Regions from separate parts of the Homo sapiens genome. Here region 2 is linked to region 1. Evidence: promoter capture Hi-C in human tissues and cell types (Jung and others, 2019). All regions are on one chromosome and are shown on one strand. The core of a region is centred on a gene start or on the middle of the fragment in contact, and the rest is flanking DNA. Distances in the headings are between cores, read along the strand shown. Region 1 holds the start of TMPRSS6 (transmembrane serine protease 6). Region 2 overlaps CACNG2 (calcium voltage-gated channel auxiliary subunit gamma 2).

Region 1 (3,941 bases), core at 913-3,412:
GAGAAGAGGAGAAACCCGCTCTCGGCGCCCCCCACAGTGCTGGGCCTTCGCACACGTTGTTTCCCGTTCATCAAGAAGGGGCGAATTTTTTTCATTCGACAGATGGAAGAAGCACCGCTCAGAAGTCAGGGAATCTGCCCAGGTTCCTACAACTAAAAGGGAGCCAGGTAGGGCTGAAAACCGGCGGTCACGGCAAAGCCCGGGCGCGGGGCCCTGTCCCATCCCAGCCAATCCATAAGCATCTCACACTTCACACCCGCTGCACACTCCACTCACACGCCTCACACTCCACACATGCCTCACGCTCCACACACACCTCACACTCCACACACGTCTCACACTACACACACGCTTCACACTCCACACATGCTTCACACTACATACACCTTACACTACACACACACCTCACACTATGCACACACCTCACACTAAACACATGCCTCATATTCCACACATACTGTGAGCATGCACACACACACACACACAGCTGCACACACCTCTCATGCTCCATACACACCTCACACCATACGTACCTCAAAGACACACACACCTTACACTGCACATTCCCAGCACCCACACTGCACACACATGCACAGTCCATATGCCCACACAACACACTTCACACACCCCCCACCCCACACCATACAAACCTCACAGACACACCTCTCACACAAATCTTATACCCCACACACAATCCCTACGCTCCACACACACACACACACACACACACGCACATTCTACACATACATAATCTACACACACAAATTCCAGACTGTCTCTCTTACACACACACTCTGGGACCCATATGCCCACAGCACACAGCATCTCAGGCGTGCACCCCGCATTCTGGCCTCAGGATGTAGACTCGCTGAAAGTCAGCCTTGTCTGAGACAGACGCCCGCTGCCCTGCACGCACCCTAGAAAGCCCTGGCTCCCATCCGGCACTTCGGCACGCATATGGCTCAAACCCATCTCCACAGCAACGCTGTTCCATAGAACAACAACGCAGGTCACACTTGTGACTTAACCTGTCTAATATCCACATGCAACAAGGGGTGTGGTGGCCCGCGCCTGTAATCCCAGCTACTTGGGAGGCTGAAGCAGGAGGATCATGTGGGCCCAGGAGCTCCAGACCAGCCTGGCAACCTAATGAGACCCTGTCTCTGAAAAAAAAAAAAACAAGAGAGCCAGAAGAAAATTGCTTTTAATAATACATTTTATTTATCCCATGATCACCAGTGTTATTTCAACATAAAATCAATATAAAAATTGTTATCGCGTTGGTTGACATCCTGTTTGCACTTGGCCTTGGAAACCTGGTGTGCGTCTCCCCCGTGCAGCTTTTCTCAGTTCAGACTGACTCAAGAGCCACGGGTGACCAGCGGCTACCGTCATGGACAGCACAGCGCTACGGAACCAGGTAGGAATTCATGCTGCGTGCGGTCGCTCATGCCTGTAATCCTAGCGTTTTGGGAGGTCGAGGTGGGTGGAATCACTTGAGGTCAGGAGTTCGAGACCAGCCTGGCTAACATGGTGAAACCCCATCTCTTCTAAAATTATGAAAATTAGCCGGGCATGGTGGTGGGCGCTGTAATCCCAGCTACCTGGGAGGCTGAGGCAGGAGAATTGCTTGAACCCGGGAGGCGGAGGTTGCAGTGAGCCGAAATCACACCACTGCACTCTAGCCTGGGTGACGGAGTGAGACTCCATCTTAAAAAAAAAAAAAAAAAAAAAAAAGAACGAGGTAGGAATTCAAATAATTCCCAGCTAAACAGAAAATAGCATCAAACCCCACCCCTGCCTCCCCTTTCTCCTCTCCAGTCCCCAGAGTATATGGGCCCAGCCTCCTTTTCTCTCTCTCAGGCCAGCAGCTCCTTTAGTCTCGCCTGTCCAGGTAAGCACCTGGACTCACCCTTGTGAGCCCCTGCACTCACCTGCACCGGCCTCTGCACAGTCCCCAGTCCTTGGCTGTCCCTACCTCATGCTCTCGGGGACCAGGGGCTGTAACCAGGCAGGCATGTCACCAGGCAACGGGCCTCGGGGGAGAGCTCAGATCTCCCGCACCTGCCTGCCAGCCTCTGGGGTGCCCATGCGGGGGTGGGGGAAGATGGGGCGGGGCAGGCACTGCCTTCTCCTACCTCCTGCCTGTTTACCTGTACTTAGTCACAGTGCTGTCCAGGACCCAGCAGGAGGAGTTCCATGGAGCCTGAGGCCACAGGCCACAGGGGACAAGGGCCAGACACCCTGGTCATGGCTCTAGGCCATTGATCCAGCCTGGGCTGGCTGGGTGGGGGTGGGGAGGCCTTGGCCTGGACAAACAGAGGCTCCTGAGGCCTGTGTGCAGGCCCGGCACCTATCTGCCGCTCCCAAAGGTAAGCGGGGGCCTCCAGGACAGGGGACCGGGATCTATAAATGACCTAGTGACAGTGTCCACCCTAAGAGCTGGGCCTGGCTCCCTGCAGCCTGAGCCACCTACCCTGCTCCGAGGCCAGGCCTGCAGGGCCTCATCGGCCAGAGGGTGATCAGTGAGCAGAAGGTGAGGGGCCCACAGAGCTGGGGAGGGGAGGGACCACGCAGGGTGACACCAGGTGTGTGGACAGGCACAGCATCAGTGCTGGGTGGTTGGTGGCCTGGGATTCAGGTGGCAGGGACAGGAGGAAGGGAGAGGCCACCCTACCCCTGCCTCGCAGGACTGGACATGCTGCCCCCTCCACACCCGGTACCCCACCTGGGCCTTCTGGTGTAGGAGACAGGCCCGGAGCCCCACATTGCACCTATGTACTGACTTAAGCCCAGGACCCTGGGCTCACAGGCTCAGAGTTGGCATGTATGTGTATGTGTGTTCGTGTGTGTGTCTGTGTAGGAAGGGCGTGCATCTATGAATTTTTGTGTCATGAATAGATGTGCGTATATCCCTCCGCGTGTCTCCATCTGTGTACATCTGTGGGTCTGTGAGTGTGTTTATATGTGTGGAAGGGACCCCCACCCAGTCCCCCACACTCTCAGGACTCTAGGGCCTAATGGTTTCACTGAAAGATGCCCCTATGGCCCTAGCCCAGAGTCCCTGCTCTGCTCTGCTCTGCCCTGGCTGAGGGACCTCGGGTAAGTCATGTTACCTCTCTCTACCTCAGTTTCCCCAGCCATTAAATAGAGTCAGCAAAGTAGGCACCCCAGGCTGTTGGAGGCTGCAGTGGAGTTTGCAGCACTGCCCAGCACAGGGCTGGCACATGGTAGGAGTTCATACGCAGTGGTTGAATCCGGATCTGCATTGCTGGGGGAGTCGCGGCCCCGCCCCAAGGAGCTCAGCCTCCAGCAGGCAGACCCGAGACCCTCCAATGGCCAGAAGGGCAGGAGGGAGTGAGGAGCAGGTGCCAGGGTGGGGTCCATGGTGCTCAGAGCTGGGGGACTGCTTCAGGCCCCTGTGGCAATTGGAGCACAGTCCCCGCTTCCAGGAGTTCAATGTGAGGGGCAAAGAGAGAGTGCCCACAGGTAAGCTGCACATCGCGAGGGGCAGCCGCCCCTTCTAGGGCACTCTGGGAGAGCTGCGAAGAGGTGAGGTCTGAACTGAGGTGACAGGGGCTGCATAAGAGCTGGCCAGGTTGGGAGGTGGGGGCCCAGGCAGAAGGAAGAGTGTGGGGACGCCTGGCCGTGAACAAGCACTGACAGGGCTCAAGGTCCACGAGGGCTCTTGGTGCCGGCTGGCTGCTCTTAATCCATAAATGTTTGCTACCATCCCATTGTTAAAATTTCTCACCAATGGAAGTCCAGTGTCCTTGGGGTGCGACGGGGAAAAGAGAGGGTGGGAAAAAAGGAGGCAGGAGAAGTTGGCCAGGCCACATATGCACACAGCACCTTGGACTTCTGTAGGGAGGAAGGAGCTGGGACCTTGTCATTCATTCATTTAACAATTACTGAGTGTCCGCTGAGTACCAGACTCTGCT
Region 2 (3,941 bases), core at 547-3,046, 520 kb after region 1:
CCATCATAGACTGCAAGTTCCTTGAGGACAGAAAGTATATTTTTCCCCCTCTGTTCTCAGCAGGTTGCATGGAGCGTGGCATACAATTGGTGCTACATAAATGATAGCTGAACAATTGTGCTGCCATAAGGCCTCATACCTCCTTCTAATATAGTATGTGAAGGATTGCACTCTAGTAAGTTCTGTACTATCTGTCTTTGCCCCTAGAATGTGAGCCTGGAAGGCAGAGATGAGATTAGATTTTCCTCTACCATCCCAGTGCCAGGCACTTGGCCCTTAGTCTCTACCACAGGGACAGAGGGTGCCTAGGAATGAAGCTAGTTGGGAGGAAAGTCAGAGATGGAGAGAGGTTCCAGATTTTGGAGCACCTGGATCCATCTGTGCCTGAAGCCATCACAACCCCTGGGGTGGATTACCACCAACCAGAAGGAAATACAATGGAACCCTAGGCTGGCCTTAGGGAAATGAAATCTCATTCATTTCATCACCACTCACCACTCTCCCCTTACTGGAGTGATGTCTGTTGACGTAGATGTCCTATGAAGTTCAAATTTCACCACTAATGCTTGAGTGCTGCTAGTGCCCCCTCCCCTCCTATACCTCTCCCCAGCACCACCATTAATCAGACTGAATCCAGGGCCCACCGAGCTCCAAGTGCTCCTGGAGACCCTGTGCTCCTCCAGCTGACCCTCACAGCCTCATGGCCACCAGAGGCGTTGGGACCAATCGCACAGTGACCTGTATCCCAGTTTACCCCATCACTCCTCCCTACTCATCACTTGTCCCTCAGGGCTGTGTGTCCTCTGATCTGGCTGGATCTCTAACTCCCCCGCCCTCCTAAATCCTTGCCATGGCACCTTCTAGAATTTAGGTCACAGTGCCAGCAGAATCCCCCCATTCTGTCCTTGCTCTAATGGAAATCTGGCTTTCCCCGAAGGACACCACCGCCCCTGCAAACTCTCACTGTCGAGAGTGTTTTACTGCTCACATCCCAGGCCTCCCTGGGCCTCATCGACATTTCCGGTCCATTTCCCTGCCTCCTCCCTAAACTCCCTGCCTCTGTGAAACACATCCCAGCCTACCTGTCCGACTCCCTCATGGCCGCCGCCATTCAGTCTTTGGGGAGCTGAGCGCTGGCTCACTGCCTTTGCCTCCAATGCTGCTCCCGTTATCATCCTTGCAGATTCCACAACCAGGAAATCAGCCCCTCCAGTCCCTGGCCGTGACCCCTTCACTCCAACCTGATGTGCCGGTGCTGCCTCACTGGTTGTTAAATATTGAAATACTGTTGTACCGATCAGTCTTACTATGTCAGGGAAGCTGGCTGGGGGAAGGGGTGGCTCCTGCATTGGGCGGGGCAGAGAGAAGAGAAGGGCTGGGACCAAGGCTCCATCTCCTCTCCTCGCTCCCCAAGGCTGGGTTAAGGACTCAGCTCTGTTCTCAGGTTCTATAAACTCCAAGGCCCGCCCCAAGGATGGGGGCAAGAGAAGAAGAGTCTCCCTACTGGTCCTGACTGGTGGGACTGGGCTGGGCTGGGCGCACACCACTGCCCTGCCGATGAGAGCCTCTACCCCTCTCACAGCCTCCCACTACCTTCCCATTCCCGGCCCTGACCTCCTGGGGCTGCTGGGCACAGAGAGGTCCTCTAGTCGAACCGTAGAGGACAACTTAGGAGAAGATTCTGCACTCGCCGAGGTGGAATGACCCTTACTCTAACAGGGAAGCTTGGGGAGCATCTGGTGTGGTTTCCTGTGTCAAAGCATGGTCCAGTCAAGCCATCATTTAGCTCATAACAGCCTCATCATCAAAAGATCACACCACTCATTTCTAAAAACCAATCGGTGATTTGGGGCTTATTAGAATAATTTGATGAATCATTTGCACTTCAAATTTTAACCGGGTAGGCAGTTTCTTAATATATACTCGATGTATATAGAAAACAACAGCGAATGTTGTAGTTTTGCCTTATCTATTAATTTGTGTGACCTTTCCAGTGCATACTTGAAGATCATCCCTACCTCTGCCTGCCCCAAGCCACCTCATTCGGGGTCTTACCCTTGCCCTTGGCATTTCCAATATCCACACCCCCTCCACTCTCTGTCTTTTGCATCCCACTCTCTGGCTACCACGTGCCACCGTTGCAGCTCACTCCCATGCACCCCCATTTCAACAATGCTTTGACCCCACCCCAACCCCAGGCTCAAAAGCATTGACTGCCCTCCCCGCTCCACCCCCCACCCCCGCCTTTGCACTGCCTCACTTGCCCTTCAGGACCTCATTTCCCTGTTTACCCAGCTTAGACTCCATATCCATCCTCATAATCCCTCCCATTCCACCCTCTCCCTGTTGCACTCACCTCACAAACCTCCTCCTGGTTAGACGCAACTCTCCAGCTAACTGCACCCATGCCACAAATGTGGCCAGAGAAAACCACAGAATCTCAGAAGTGACCTTCAAGCCACTGACACACACACTTCACAGCCTGGTCCACTGTCTCCCACTCTCGCTTCCCTTCCCCTGTCCTCCCGTCCCCAACCCTTCCTCACTCTCAGTTGATGATCCTGCTTCCCATTTCGTTGGGAAAATAGAAGCAACAGAAGAGAAGTGTTACACCCTCCCACCATGTCTGCCCATCCCCAGCACTGCACCCACGAGCTCTGCTGTCCCTCCTGGCACAGCACCACCCCCCTTGTGCTGTGTCCTGGGCCTCATCTCCTTGCACAGTGCACCTGTATTGCTCCCCCATCTCTGCAGGTCATCCCTTCTGTCCTCCTTTCTTTTACTTTTTTATTTTGATTTTATTTTCAAGACAGAGTCTTGCTCTGTCACCAGACTGGAGTGCAGTGGTGCTATCCTAGCTCACTGCAGCCTCGAACACCTGGGTTCAAGGGATCCTCCTGCCTCAGACTCCCAAGTAAGCTAGGACCACAGACACATACCACCACATCTGGCTAATTTGTTTTTATTTTTTGTAGATATAGGGTCTTGCTATGTTGCCCAGGCTGGTCTTGAACTGCTGGGTTCAAGGGATCCTCCTGCCTCAGCTTCCTAAAGCTAAGGCTGAGCCACTGCCCCCAGCCCCTCCCTTCTTCCCTCTCTACTAGAACATTCCCACTAGTATCATACAGGCTTTAATATCTCCCCCCTTAGGCCGGGCGCGGTGGCTCACGCCTGTAATCCCAGCACTTTGGGAGGCCGAAGCAGGCGGATCACGAGGTCAGGAGATCGAGACCACAGTGAAACCCCGTCTCTACAAATAATACAAAAAAAAAAATTAGCCGGGCGTAGTGGCGGGCGCCTGTAGTTCCAGCTACTCTGGAGGCTGAGGCAGGAGAATGGCGTGAACCCGGGAGGCGGAGCTTGCAGTGAGCCGAGATTGTGCCACTGCACTCCAGCCTGGGTGACAGAGCAAGACACCGTCTCAAAAAAAAAAAATATATCTCCCCCCAACATAGAGCAGCCAGCACTAGCCAGCTAGTGGAGGACACCCCAGTAGCACAGTGCAGGGAGGCAGAAGGAGGTTAGGAGAAAGAGGCAACAGAGGACGTGGTGGGAGTTCAGGCAGCAGGACCAGCATGCATGTGCCACGGTCCTGAGGTAGGAGGGAGCATGGCAGGAAAGAAGGCAGAGATGCACAGGGAGGGAGGAGGTGGGTGGGAGGTGAGGCCAGATGTGGAGGTTGGGGGTCAGGCTTTGTTAGAGATGTTGAGCTTTTCCCCGACAGCACTGGGAAGCTGGAGTGTTTCCGAGCTGGAGGTGGCATGATCAGATTTGCATGTACAAAGGATCACTGTCATAGCTCTGTAGAGAAGGATAAGAGTGGGTGCAAACTGATGAGTGGGGAGGCCGCGGCAGCCATCCAGGGAGCAGGGATGGTGGCCTGGTAGTGGGCGGTGCTGTCTCAGAGACATCAGGCAAGTTTGAGACACTAAGGATCTAAT

Evidence for each region. Contacts are between HindIII fragments. The study calls those that stand out against the background at their distance.
Region 2: a fragment that was not itself captured here is called in contact with the fragment with the promoter of TMPRSS6 in region 1 in 1 of the 25 tissues and cell types used here (dorsolateral prefrontal cortex).

Annotation. Positions count from the first base shown.
Region 1 is chr22:37,107,934-37,111,874 of GRCh38, reverse strand. TMPRSS6 (transmembrane serine protease 6) reads left to right here and starts at 2,162. Exons shown (of 18, transcript NM_001374504.1): 1 at 2,162-2,372. RefSeq lists an enhancer at 3,431-3,932. The HindIII fragment of the contact is 35,568 bases long and covers 1-3,941 here.
Region 2 is chr22:36,590,537-36,594,477 of GRCh38, reverse strand. All of the region lies in intron 1 of CACNG2 (calcium voltage-gated channel auxiliary subunit gamma 2), which reads left to right. Among named protein-coding and RNA genes, the nearest start is that of EIF3D, 63 kb to the right of the region's middle. The HindIII fragment of the contact is 7,923 bases long and covers 1-3,941 here.